Linked DNA regions of Homo sapiens: regions 1 and 3 are each linked to region 2. Evidence: promoter capture Hi-C in 16 types of primary human blood cells and fetal thymus (Javierre and others, 2016). All regions are on one chromosome and are shown on one strand. Each heading gives the region's core, a stretch centred on a gene start or on the middle of the fragment in contact. The rest is flanking DNA. Distances are from core to core; before and after follow the strand shown.

What was found. Contacts are between HindIII fragments. The CHiCAGO score rates a contact against its expected background, and 5 or more counts as called.
Region 1: a fragment that was not itself captured here is called in contact with the fragment with the promoter of LAGE3 in region 2 in 3 of 17 cell types (fetal thymus, activated CD4 T cells and naive CD8 T cells); the score reaches 7.1 in fetal thymus.
Region 3: a fragment that was not itself captured here is called in contact with the fragment with the promoter of LAGE3 in region 2 in 1 of 17 cell types (activated CD4 T cells); the score reaches 5.1 in activated CD4 T cells.

What each region holds. Positions count from the first base shown.
Region 1 is chrX:154,095,399-154,099,430 of GRCh38, forward strand. It overlaps MECP2 (methyl-CpG binding protein 2), which reads right to left and starts at 2,319. Exons shown (of 3, transcript NM_001110792.2): 1 at 2,206-2,319. The coding sequence starts at 2,267. RefSeq lists an enhancer at 1,335-1,424 and silencers at 1,745-1,824, 1,885-1,944, 1,921-2,159, 2,245-2,604. The HindIII fragment of the contact is 4,609 bases long and covers 1-4,032 here.
Region 2 is chrX:154,476,851-154,480,919 of GRCh38, forward strand. It overlaps LAGE3 (L antigen family member 3), which reads right to left and starts at 2,431. Exons shown (of 3, transcript NM_006014.5): 1 at 1,878-2,431; 2 at 1,433-1,561; 3 at 925-1,208. The coding sequence starts at 2,065. The coding sequence ends at 1,094. PLXNA3 (plexin A3) reads left to right here. Exons shown (of 33, transcript NM_017514.5): 33 at 1-929. RefSeq lists a silencer at 1,825-2,044 and an enhancer at 2,306-2,805. The HindIII fragment of the contact is 14,076 bases long and covers 1-4,069 here.
Region 3 is chrX:154,118,069-154,122,457 of GRCh38, forward strand. No RefSeq gene overlaps it. Among named protein-coding and RNA genes, the nearest start is that of MECP2, 23 kb to the left of the region's middle. The HindIII fragment of the contact is 175 bases long and covers 2,606-2,780 here.

The DNA of each region.
Region 1 (4,032 bases), core at 889-3,388, 380 kb before region 2:
CCCTCCACCAGGCACTTTGCAGAGAAAACTATACTCTGGAAGCTGCCTGCACTGTTGATAGGGCTAGACGTATGATAAACAGCTAACCGGAGGGGCACCCGAGGAGACAAACTGCCAACTATGAAGAACAAAGCAGAGACCTCAACTTGTCACGTCTCAAGCTCAGATGTACAAACTTTGGGATCGTCAAGTGAGGCTCGTGTGTATGCCTGGGGATATGACTGTATTCCAGTGATCAGCCACCTAGCTGACCTGCCACGAATGGGTGACCTGTGGTGACTTACTTTAATCAACTGTAGTACTTCTAGATTGATTGGGTGATTTAAGGTTCTGACATATTCAGGCAAGAAAATAAAAGCAAGTGTTTCCTAGACTTCCTCATTGGGATTTGAAATAGAAATCCTGAAAAGCCCATAAAAGCCTATTTCCCTAAATCCTTGGTGGAAATTCCCAAAAGATTAAAAAATCCAGACCCTGTCTTATTATAGGGACCCAGCAGATTTCAAAAGACTCAAGAGGTCAGCTTAATCTGGTTATTAACTGAAATTGCTGAGATACTGATGAACATTCCAGCCATGGAACCCAAAATTCTCTAGAGTAATAATTACCTATTAGTGCAATGTTACTACTGAGGCCGTATATGCTTCATTTTTACAGTATAACAAAATGTCTAAAACTTATGAGAGTCCTACAACGTCTAGGCCACTCAGTATCACATCCAAGTAGGTATGGTTCCTGGATCACCAACCAACCCCTGAATTCGATCCTGTTATCTCACAGTCTGGGGTACTGATCCCGCACAGCAGAGACACAACGTGTGAAAGGCTCGGCAGAGCCCATTCCTGTTCCTGGAAAAATAACCAGAAGCACACATCTGCCTGACCATGAGTCAGGAATATCAATTTTGTGGTGGAGCCCATTTCTGCTGTGACCAACCCACACCCGAACACACTCGCAACAGAAGCAACCGCCACAGAGCAATTCCAGAATGAGCTTTTTCCCCCTCGGGGTCCATACTTAGCAATGTCATAAACGGTCTCCCCTGCGACAGCAATCCTTTTACACTCTTCATAATGACCTTAAGTCTTTAGTGCAAAACCACAGAAACATTGCCACTGCCATATAAAAGTCATCTGAGTTTCAGTTTGGGTGATTCGGTCATGACCAAACTGAACAGAGGATAACCTTTCAGGCACAATTAACAGGAGCCACAGCGTCGCGATGAACTTGCCCCATCTGGTACCGGTGATCCCGAGCGCTCCAGGGCGATGAGAGCCCGTTACCTACTATGTCCCACTCCACTTATGTAACTGGAAGATCGCCGGCGAAGGGGAGGGTAGGATGGGAGGGTGCTCACATTCCGAGGCCACAGCACTCCAAAGAACCTCTGAGCACCCTGGGGACACGCTCGCACCTTAGAGCCTCTGGCGCCGAAGAGCCTCGGGTGCTGCTGGACGCACAGTCCCCTACCCACGGCTCCTGATGGGAACTATAACCACCTCTTTATGATGAGTTGTGGGACCCAGAACACAATGTCTAGTCCCTTTTGTGGATAATAATCCCCACCTACTTGTTCCTGCTAGATGGGGAAAGGAGCCGGTGGACCTACTCGCTCGCGGGGGGGTAGCGGGGGGCAGAAATTCATGGAATGGGCGAGAAGGAGGGGGAGGCAAAGCCCAGAGATGGGGGTGAGAGCTCAGGAGCCCTTGTGGCGCACTCTCCCGACGGGAGGCGAAGTGCGCACGCGCGCCGGTGGGGGGGCCGAGTAACGGGAGAGGGGGCGCGCGAGGGAGGGAGGGGGAGAGCGCGATCCAGGGAGAGGCCGGGGCCGCGGGCGCGCGACGGCGCCGCGGCCCAAAGCCCCGAGAAGGGCAGGAGCGCGCGCAGCCCCGACAGGCGAAGCCCCGGCGACAGGGGCGCCCGCGGGGCCGGGGGCCGGGATGCGCGTCGAGGGCGGGAGGAAGAGGGGCGTCAGGCGAAGGCGGCTCCAGGGAGGCCGCGCCGAGGACGGTCACCCGCGAGCAGGGGTGACGGGCCGAGGGGAGAGTCGCCACCGGCGGCGGCGGGAGGGGGAGGGTAGAGAGGAGGGACGCCATCCGCCAGCCGTGTCGTCCGACCCCGCGGGCCCCTCCCGCGCCACGTCCCGCCCCTGACCCCCGCCCCCCGGCAAGGGTCCCCGCCCGCGGCCACGGCGGTCCCACTCACAGTCTCTCCTCCTCGCCTCCTCCTCCTCCTCCGCTCGGCGCGGCGGCGGCGGCGGCGGCCATTTTCCGGACGGCTTTTACCACAGCCCTCTCTCCGAGAGGAGGGAGCGCGCGCGCCGCCGACGCCGGGACCCCGCACGGCCGACGTCGCGCCCCGCCCTCTTGGCCGGCCCGCGCGCTGCTGCACCTGCGCGCCCGCGCCCCGCCCTCGGCGCCGCTGCGAGCCCGCCCGTCATTGGCTGTGATGGCCGGGCTGGGACGGGGAGGACGGGGGAGGGGGGAGTCTCAGCGGCGATGCCGTCAATTGGCGAGATTTCCTGTCCATTTCGGCCAGGGAAAAGGGGGCGGACCCCTCCAGCTGTTGATTGGCTGCTTTCGGCCGTCGTTTGGGGAAAAGAGGCGGCTTGGGCGCGGAGGGACTGGTTTAGTGGGCGGAATTTGAATGTTAAGGATTAATGGACCCTTGCGGATGCTGGGGCAAGTGAAGGCCTAGGCTTGGGACGCCTGTTTGCGCTGCTCTGAGGGGCGATTGACCCTCTGTCCACAGATGCACCGAGTGCGCTGCAATAAGCGTTTCATTGCACCCACATTTTCTCAATATCACTATCTTCGGCAGAAGCAGCAAAGTTGCCCACCCTGGAGCCTGACGTTGCCCCAGCTGAGGGGCCTTGGTTTCAGAGGCCTACTCAATGCATTATTTCATCCGAGCCTGCCCAGTGCTCACACTCTCATAGAGGCGGGGAATAAACTGACAACAAATCGCAACCCTGGCTTTCGCAGAACTCTGGCGGGGGAAGAGAGTGCATGCCAAGGCCTCGTGACACCTGTCACTGTTGGATCAGATGGTTTGGTGGAGGTGTGAATAAGGGGCAATGTTAGCTCTGCCTGGAAGATATGATTTGGGAGCTGAGATCCAGCAATTTTTCACTTTCCTAGAAGAGTTGATTTGGAGCTGAGATCCAGCAATTGTGTTTTGGGAAAATAAGAGTATGAGAAAACTGTTAGCTAACCAGGTGTTCAGGACAGGAGTGTTTGTTAAGGGGACCTTACCCTGATGCCAGTCATTATCCAATCCATTCAATGATCCTTCTGTTAGTTCTATGCTTAGCAAGAAAACCTGATTCTGATTTGGCTGCTTGCCCCCATTCATTTATTGACTACCTGCTATGTGCCAGGCACTCTTCCAGGCTCTGGATGCACGGTACTGAACAGACAGCAAACTAACATTCTTGCCGGGAAGATTCATACTAGCATACAAATAAGTATAATATATCATTTCACATAGTGATAAGGGCTTTGAGAAAGATAAACTAAGTGAAGGGGGTGCTATTTAGATATCTGCTGGTTTTCACCCTCATTTTACTCCCTCATATGAATATCTGGGGAAAGAACATTCCAGGCAAGTTCAAAGGACATGAGGAGAGACTATGCCTGGCATGTTGGGGACTAACGAGGAAGTCAGTGTTGCTGGAGAGTGGTAGGGAATGTGATTGGAAAGGCAGCTGGGGCCACTATGAGAACTGGGAGTTCATTCTTTTTTGGGGGGGGTGGGGATGGGGTCTCATTCTGTCACCCAGGCTGCAGTGCAGTGGCGCAATCTTGGCTCACTGCAACGTCCACCCTGAGCTCAAGCGATCCTCCCTCCTCAGCGTCCTAAGTAGCTGGGACCACAGATGCGAACCACCACGCCTGGCTAAGTTTTTGTATTTTTGATAGAGATGGGAGTTCACCATGTTGCCCAGGCTGGTCTCAAACTCCTGAGTTCAAGTGATCCGCCCGCCTCGGACTCCCAAAGTGCTGGGACTACAGGCGTAAGCCACCGCACCCG
Region 2 (4,069 bases), core at 1,181-3,680:
GCAGACACCCGGACTTTAGGAGTTGAAACTGATTCAGAGCGTCCCAGCAGCTGGAGTTTGCAGGGCGGAGAACCAGAGAGAAGAGAGCTGCACAGGGAAAGAACCCTGGATATCCACAGAGGCTCCCGTTCCAGTGTGCAGCGGACTACGACTACTGGTGAGCACAGGCGTGTGAGGAAGCTACCCAAGACCAGGGAAGGCCATCACCCCAGCAGGAGAGGATGAACGGTAACTCCAGTGTGCAAGCAGGACAGGGACTAGCAGCTGTCCCCACCCACCAGGATAGAGAAGCTCATGTTCACCTAGGCAGCACTGGCCAGGGTGCCCAGAATGGTGTTTGTTGCCTCCATAGAGGGAAACAAGCCTACAGTTAAGAGCTGCTCTGGTCCCACACAGCACATCTTCAAAGCAAGACTCAAAAGGATCAAACCATTTCCTTGTTTTCTGAGAATAAAAGCAGTTGTACCTCTTCCTTTTCACTCTCAGAAAATCTGATAGAATCTATAAAAGAGCCCTAAGGCTGGAGACACTGTATTTTCCAGGGAGCCAACTCCTTGCCCCAGACACTAGTCAATTGCCCCAGCACTTTCTTCACTGATCGTTAGAGGAAAAAAGCTCATGTTAGATTTAAAAATCAGGAAAAAAATTTAACACTAAACTTGCAAATATTATGTGGTGTATATTACAGTTACACATTTACTATGTAAGTGCAACTGTAAAACTGAGGAAGTATTCCAAAATGTTGACAGTAGTTAATCCTGAATGACAGAACCCAATTGATTTTCATTTTCTTCCATTTCCTAAATTGTCTTCAATTTCCTTGTACTCCTTGAATATCTGAATTCTAGAACCCCCCCCCCAGCAACCCAAGCACAACAAGAATATTGGGAGGTGCCCCAGCTGCAAATAAACTCAGACTTGGAATAGTAGCGCAGTTTTATTTTCTGTAGTAACAAACATTTAAGAACCAGATAAAACATGAGGCCCTCCCAGGAAAGTAGCAACTGTGGGAATTCCTGCCCTAGGGAAGGATGGACGCACTGCCTACAAGGAGACGCAAAGTGGGACCTCGCTCCATTTGCCCAGGCCAGGCTTAGCGGGAAACGGGGGGCCCAAAGCGCTGCATGGTCCGCACCACCAGGGAAAGCTGGTCAAGAAAGTTGATGACGGAAATTCGGAGCAGGCGACAGTCTTCAGCTTTCCAGCGGCTAAAAGTGAGGGGAAAAGAAAATCAAATTGGAGGTGGCAACTCCTGGTCCCTCGCTCTGCCCCTCAGGCACCCAATATAGCAAACCCTTGGGAGCCCTGCCATTACACAGCCCCTCAGGCAGAGACCGGCCCAGCGCACCTGGCGCTCCTTAGGGCTCATCCTTGGATGTCCCCCATGTCTCCATGGGCCGCCTCCCCCAACCCCGTCCCTTTCAGAACTTACACGACCAGGATCCTGCCACTCACTGTGAGATCCTTCCCAACCACCCTTTGGTGGGGCTCGGCATCTGGTGCCAGGGACCCATGGGCGATTTCCGCCTCCAAGGGGGTCGGGAAAGGCACGCTGAGGGTGCTGGGGGTCATTCGGTTAAGGTGCCATCTGATACGATCTTGCCTATGTCTCAGGCCTTCTTGCTCCTCTGAAGCCCCCTCTCAGGTCACCCTGCCTAGTGTCACCCCCTTCACTCCTTACCTCGCCCAGGCCACCGTTAGCAGAGCTTCTCCCTCCATTTCAATGTCTTCCCCTCCTCCGACCACCTCTGACCGTATACGCCAGCCCCGGTCCCCCCCTGCTACCCTTTCCGTCGGCCCCCCGCCCGCCCTCCTTTCCTTCTCCCCGAGTCCAGCCCTCGCTCCGCCGCAAGCAGCCCCCAGCTCGGAAAGGATACAATATGTGCGGCCGCATTCGTGACCCCCTGGCCGCAGACGCGGCGTCTCTGCCCGGACCTGGCGCGTGCGCTGGGGGAGCTCCACCGGCCGGAGCTGCGGCTGTGTCCACGCCCCCGCGGCAGCTGTGGCCACCCCGGCCATCCCCGCCGTCAGCGCCTCCGCCTGCGTCTGCATCCGCGTCCCGCATGACCGCCGCCGCGCCGCTCCGACTCCACCCCCGAAGCGCAGGTCCTACGCCCCGCCCTCTCTGTGGCTCCTTCCCGAAGCCCCGCCCCCTGCGCACGACTCCGCCCACACGCGCCTGCGCAGGTCCCTGGAGAGCCTGACTGGCGCGTGGTCAGTTCCCGCCAAGCGGCCCTGCCGGGGGCCTTCTGAGACCCGGTCAGCGGTTGAGAGGCTGCGGTTTCCTCCAGAAACTCTGCCCTTTCGCGCGTAACTCGATTCCAGAGCGCTGGTGCAAACTGACCCACAGTCGGTCCGGCCCCAGGAAGCCAACCCTGACGGGGCTTTTGAAGACACCGTGGTCGCCTATCCCAGAGGCGCACCCCGCGAGGCTCCGCCCCTAAGCGCGCCTTGTGACCTTAGCGCGCCTGCGCTGGCGGGGCCTTCCCCCTTGTCCCTGGAGGCCCCAGTGAGGCCCTGCGGTGCCTGGACGGCTTCCCGCCCCGTTTCTTACCTGGACCCAAGAGCCCCAGGAGATGTGGCACAACGTCCATGTTGCGATTCGCAGAGGGAGGGTGGCCGGGTCGGGTAACCCCCAAGGATACTGCTCTTGCCCTCAACCCCAGTGCCCAACCAACGGGGCTTCACCATGGACTGTGAAGCATCGGATGTGCATTTTAGAGGAAGCATTTTAGAGCGGGTGGGCTGTGCAGAGCGGGGGAGCCTGTCAGCAGGAGGCCTGCACGGAGGCGAAAAATGACAGGGCCTTGAATGAAAGTACTGGCGGTGGGTCTAGGTCTAATATAACGTGAAAAATCAGACTGCACAACTATGAGTATGAAAATGCCAGTTTAGGCCAGGCAAAGTGGCCCCCGCTTGGAATCCCAGCACTTTGGAAGGCCAAGGGAGGAGGATCACTTGAGCCCAGGAGTTCAAGACAAACACAGGCAACATAGTGAGACCCCGTCTCTACAAAAAATACAAAAATAAATTTTAAAAGTTAGCTGGGAGTGGTGGAGCGTGCCTGTAGTCATAGCTTCTTGGAGGCTGAGGAGGGTTGATTGCTTGAGCCCGGGAGTTCGACACCAGCCTGGGCAACATAGTGAAACCCTGCCTCTACAAAAAATACAAAAATTAGCTGGGTGTGATGGTGCACACCTGTGGTCCCAGCTACTAGGGAGGCTGAGATGGGAGGACAGCCTGAGCCCGGGAGGCAGAGGCTGCAGTTAGCCGTGATCGCCCCACCGCACTCCAGCCTGGTTGATAGAGCCAGACCCCGCCTCAAAAAATAAAAGAAAATGCCAACTTAGTCTCTTACTGTACATATGTAGAGAAATCCTAGAACAATACAGCGTCAGGTAAATCCTCATGATCTCTGCTAATAGTATGGTGGGTGACTTTAATTTCCTTTTTGTGTTTTCCCTCCAATTTTTCCGAAGTGGTCTTTTATGACATTTACAATAAAAAAAAAAGTATTTAAAGTGACATCAGTCCGGGCACGGTGGCTCACGCCTATAATCCCAGTACTTTGGGAGGCCGAGGCGGGTGGATCACTTGAAGTCAGGAGTTCAACACCATCCTGGCCAACATGGTGAAACCCCCGGCCCTACTAAAAATAACAAAAATTAGCTGCGTGTCGTGGTGTGCGCCTGTAGTCCCAGCTATTCGGGAGGCTGGGACAGAAGAATCACTTGAACCCGGGAGGTGGAGGTTGTGGTGAGCCGACATCACGCCACTGCACTCCAGCCTGGGCGACAGAGGGAGACTGTCTCAAAAAGAAAAATAATAAAAATAAAAAATGAATAAATAAAGTGACATAAAATTTCCAACAGTGTTTGTCATGTTTGGACAACCTATTTTCCTCCTTTGCAGTCATAAGGAAGGATTAAACACTGAACTATATCAGCAAATCCTGTTGGGTTTCCCTCTGAAATAGGTTCCACATCAGCCCACTTCTCGCTCTCCACTGCTAGTCTGCTGTGGAAGCCAGCATCTTTCCTTGACCTCCCTCAACAGCTTCCTGGCTGAT
Region 3 (4,389 bases), core at 1,443-3,942, 360 kb before region 2:
GACCAAATGGTATACTTTATGTTATTTATTTTTTAAAATTAGAGATGGGGGTCTCACTATGTTGCCCAGGCTTCCCTATGTTTGTTGCCCAGGCTGGTCTTAAACTCCTGGGCTCAAGCAATCCTCCTGCCTTAGCCTCCGGAGTAGCTGGGATTACAGGCGCATGCCACGGTGCCCAGCAAAATTATATACTTTATTATTATCATTATTTTAGAGATAGGTCTCACTCTGTCTCCCAGGCTGGAGTACAGTGGCAATCATAGTTTACCGTAACCTTGAACTCCTGGGCTCAAGTGATCCTCCTGCCTTGGCCTTCCAAGTTGCTGGGGCCACAAGTGCATGCCACAATGCCTGGCTAGTTTTTAAATTTTTTGTAGCAACTAGGCTTCCCTATGTTTGTTGCCCAGGCTGGTCTCAAACTCCTGGCCTCAAGCAATCCTCCTGCCTCAGCCTCCCAAAGTGCTGAGATTGCAGGTGTGAGCCACCACACCCAGCCTCTGTATACTTTAAGCAACACACACTTTGTTTTATGTAGGCTATACCTTGATAAGGCTGTTTGAAATAGAGTGCATCAAATATATTGCGCAGTTTAAAGAACAATTCTAAATTGAACACCCATGCAACCATTTGCTTACCCCTAGTAATGGAGCTATTCTCATTTTATTCTTAAAGATTCATCGTTTTGCCCTTCATATTTAGGTTTTCAATCTGTGTAAAATTGATTTTTGTAATGGTGTGAAGTAGAGGTACAGCTTCCTTCCTTTTCCTTTTTTTACAGTTTCTCTTTCTTTCTCTTTTTTTTTTTTTTTCAGACAGTCTCAATCTGTCACCTAGGCTGGAGTGCAGTGGCGAGATCTCGGCTCACTGCAACCTCCACCCCCCGGGTTCAAGTGATTCTCCTGCCTCAGCCTCCCAAGTAGCTGGGATTACAGGCGTGTGCCACCACGTCCAGCTAACTTTTGTATTTTTAGTAGAGGCGGGGTTTCACCATGTTGGCCAGGCTGGTCTCGAACACCTGGCCTCAACTGATCCACCCGCCTCAGCCTCCCAAAGTGCTGGGATTACAGGCGTGAGCCACTGCGCTGGCCTTTTCTTGTTTATGATCTCCAGGGGATGCTTTCAACTTTTTGTCATTAAATATGATGATGCTATAACTATTTTAATAAATCCTTTGCTAAGGAAGTTCATTTTAATTCCTAGGCTCCTGACTTTTCTTTGTAATCATGAATGGATATTGAATTTTATCCAGTGCTTTTTCTGTGCTTATTGTGGTGATCATGTAATTGGTATTTTTTTTAATTTTTTTTGAGACAGGGTCTCGCTTTATCACCCAGGCTGGAGTGCAGTGGCATGATCTCAGCTCACTGCAGCCTCAACCTCCTGGGCTCAAGCGATCCTCTTGCCTCAGCTCCCCAAGTAGCTGGGATGACAGGCATGTGCCACCACCGGCAATTTGTGTGTGTGTGTGTGTGTGTGTGTGTGTGTGTGTGTGTGTGTGTCTATTATTTGTAGAGATGAGGTTTCACCATGTTAACCAGGCTGGTCTCAAACTCCTGAGTTCAAGCAATCTGCCTGCCTTAGCCTCCCAAAGTGCTAGGCTTACTGACATGAGCCACCATGCCCTGCTGATCATGTAATTTTTCTTCTTTAACATTAATTTGGTTAATTACAATAAATGATTTTATATTATTAAACTAACTTTGCACTCCTGAGATAAACACATCTTGGTCACCATGTATTATCTTTTTTTTTCCTTTTGTTTGGTTTTTTTTGAGACAGCATCTCGCTCTGTCTCCCAGGCTGGAGTGCAGTGGCACAATCTCGGCTCACTGCAACCTCCACCTCCTGGGTTCAAACGATTCTCCTGCCTGACCCTCCCGAGTAGCTGGGATTATAGGTGCACGCCACCAGGCCCAGCTAATTTTTTGTATTTTTAGTAGAGACTGGATTTCGCCATGTTGGCCAGGCTGGTCTTGAACTCCTGACCTCAGGTGATCCACCCGCCTCAGCCTCCCAAAGTGCTGGGATTACAGGCGTGAGCCACCGTGCCCAGTCCAGTCACCATGTATTATCTTTTTTACATATTGCTAGTATTCTGTTTGGGATTTCTGAATCTCTGCCTACAAGTGAAGTTGGCTTATAATTTTCTTTCTCATAATGTCCTTGACAGGTTTTGGTTTCAAGGTTATGTTTGCCTTCTAACAAGAGTGGAGCCTCTTTTTCTTAATTCTCTGAAAGAGTTTGTGTAAAATTAGAACTATTGCTTCTTGAATATTTGATAGATCTTGCTGATGAAGTCATCTAGGCCTAGAGTTTGGTTTGAACGGAAGATATTTTATTACTAACAAAAAATTTATAATTATATGACTATTTAGGGTCTTTGCTTTTTCTTGAGTCAATACTGGTAATTTCTTTTTCTAGGACTTTGTTCATTTCAACTGTATTTTCAAATGTATTGGCACAAAGTTATTCACAATAGCCATTACTTTAAAATCCTGTCTGCATCTGTGGTTATAGCCATTTTCCATTCATAGTATAGTTTCCATGTGCCTTTTCTCTTGTTTCTCTCAATGAGGACTGTAAATGTCATTAGTCCTGCCAGGGAAGCTTCTGCCTCTGACAGGCGTCACTGCTTTGCTCCCTGCTCTAAGGAGTCACCTGTGTGAAGTTTTTCCTTTTCCCATCAATCATGTCGCCATCCTCCTGGCAACAGTATAGATTGGTGTCTGACGTAGGAATGACACAAAGACCCCATCCAAAAGTAGCCAAACTTTATTTCAAGCTTAAGAAAATGCATATTTTCTCCAAACTTAAGCAGAACATTGTTATGAGAAAAAAACTGGACTTTCTTGCACTGTATTTCTTTTTTAGGGGGAGGGGGGAAGGGGAGATGGAGTCTCGCTCTGTCGCCCAGGCTGGAGAGCAGTGGTGCGATCTTGGCTCACTGCAACCTCCGCCTCCTGGGTTCAAGCAGTTCTCTGCCTCAGCCTCCCAAGTAGCTAGGATTACAGGCGCCCACCATCACGCCCGGCTAATTTTTGTATTTTTAGTAGAGACAGGGTTTCACCATGTTGGCCAAGCTGGTCTTGAACTCCTGACCTCATGATCCACCCGCCTCGGCCTCCCAAAGTGCTGGGATTACAAGCGTGAGCCACCGCACCCGGCCTCTTGCACTGTATTTCTGTTGGAAGATCACAACCATGTTGCTCATTCTTTCTTATTAAGATTCCCATATCTGGTGTTTCTTGGAGATGTATCTAGGTCAACATGACCCAGGTTTAACCCAAACAACTCATAAAAACATGGCAGACTTTTAGCCCTTGGGAAATGAACTTGCTTTGGCCCTACTGAAGAGACTCATTTAAACCCTCCTCTTCCTCTGAAGCCTGTCCCTGAGAACTCCACCTTCCCTTTCTCTTTTCAGGCTGCCTGGCTGCACTTGGACCTACGCTCATCATCTCTTTGGCTGTTTCCATTGTTTAGAGGTTCCCCTCAATGTCCCTGGCCTCAGGATAGCTGCCACTGGAGCACAGCCCTGGCCTGGGAAGTCCCAGCAGGACCCCAGAGGCTCCTTGAGTCTCTTACCTTCCTTCCCAGGAGGACTGTCACTGAGGGGGGAGCCGAACTTTGGTCACAGCAATTGAGCTGCTTTCTAAGCTCTCATCTGTCCAAGTGTGATGTCCACTGGAAGTTTCTGGTCCTTTGGCCCATTTTGATTAGTTCCTCTTGTCTTCCAGGGTGAGAGACCAAAAGTCCTGTTTCTGTAAATCATGGCTGTGTGCCAGTATACAAAACTGACAAGACCCCTTAGGACATTTGTCTTCCAATTTTGAAACCGGAAGCCTGGATGAAGTGTCCTGTCTCCCAGATTGAAATCTTGGAAAACCTGTTTGTGACACCATTGGTTATCTTCTCTGTGCTTCCCGTCTGTGGCCAGAATTGTGCCCAAGAGCCTGGGCCAGAGCCAGCCGAGTAGCCCTGCCCTGTGGACCCAGGGGTCTTTTTATAGTTAACTTGTAGCTACAGCTGGAGAACTGGTTCTGCCTGTCTTCTGTGGTTTCCTGGCTGTGCACACTACTGAGTCGTCACCGAAGGGGATCAGGGCTTGTTCCGTGCCTGTGTTCTCCAGGGAACAGGATCACAAGACAGCTGTCCCCGGGATAATGGACTCTTGGGAAGAATTTGGCTCCTGGGGGGGGTGGCTCGAGGGCACCCGAGACATCTCAATCATGGTCATGCGGGTCTGAGTCTTGTACTGGGAGGGAAGCGAGTGAGTGGTGGCCAGCTCGGCCTGTCTGGCCCCCATGAGACTGACCTCTACTTGAACTCCTTGAGGCTGGTCCTTCTGCTCTGAATAACTAGAGAAATCCCAGGAAAATACATACATTG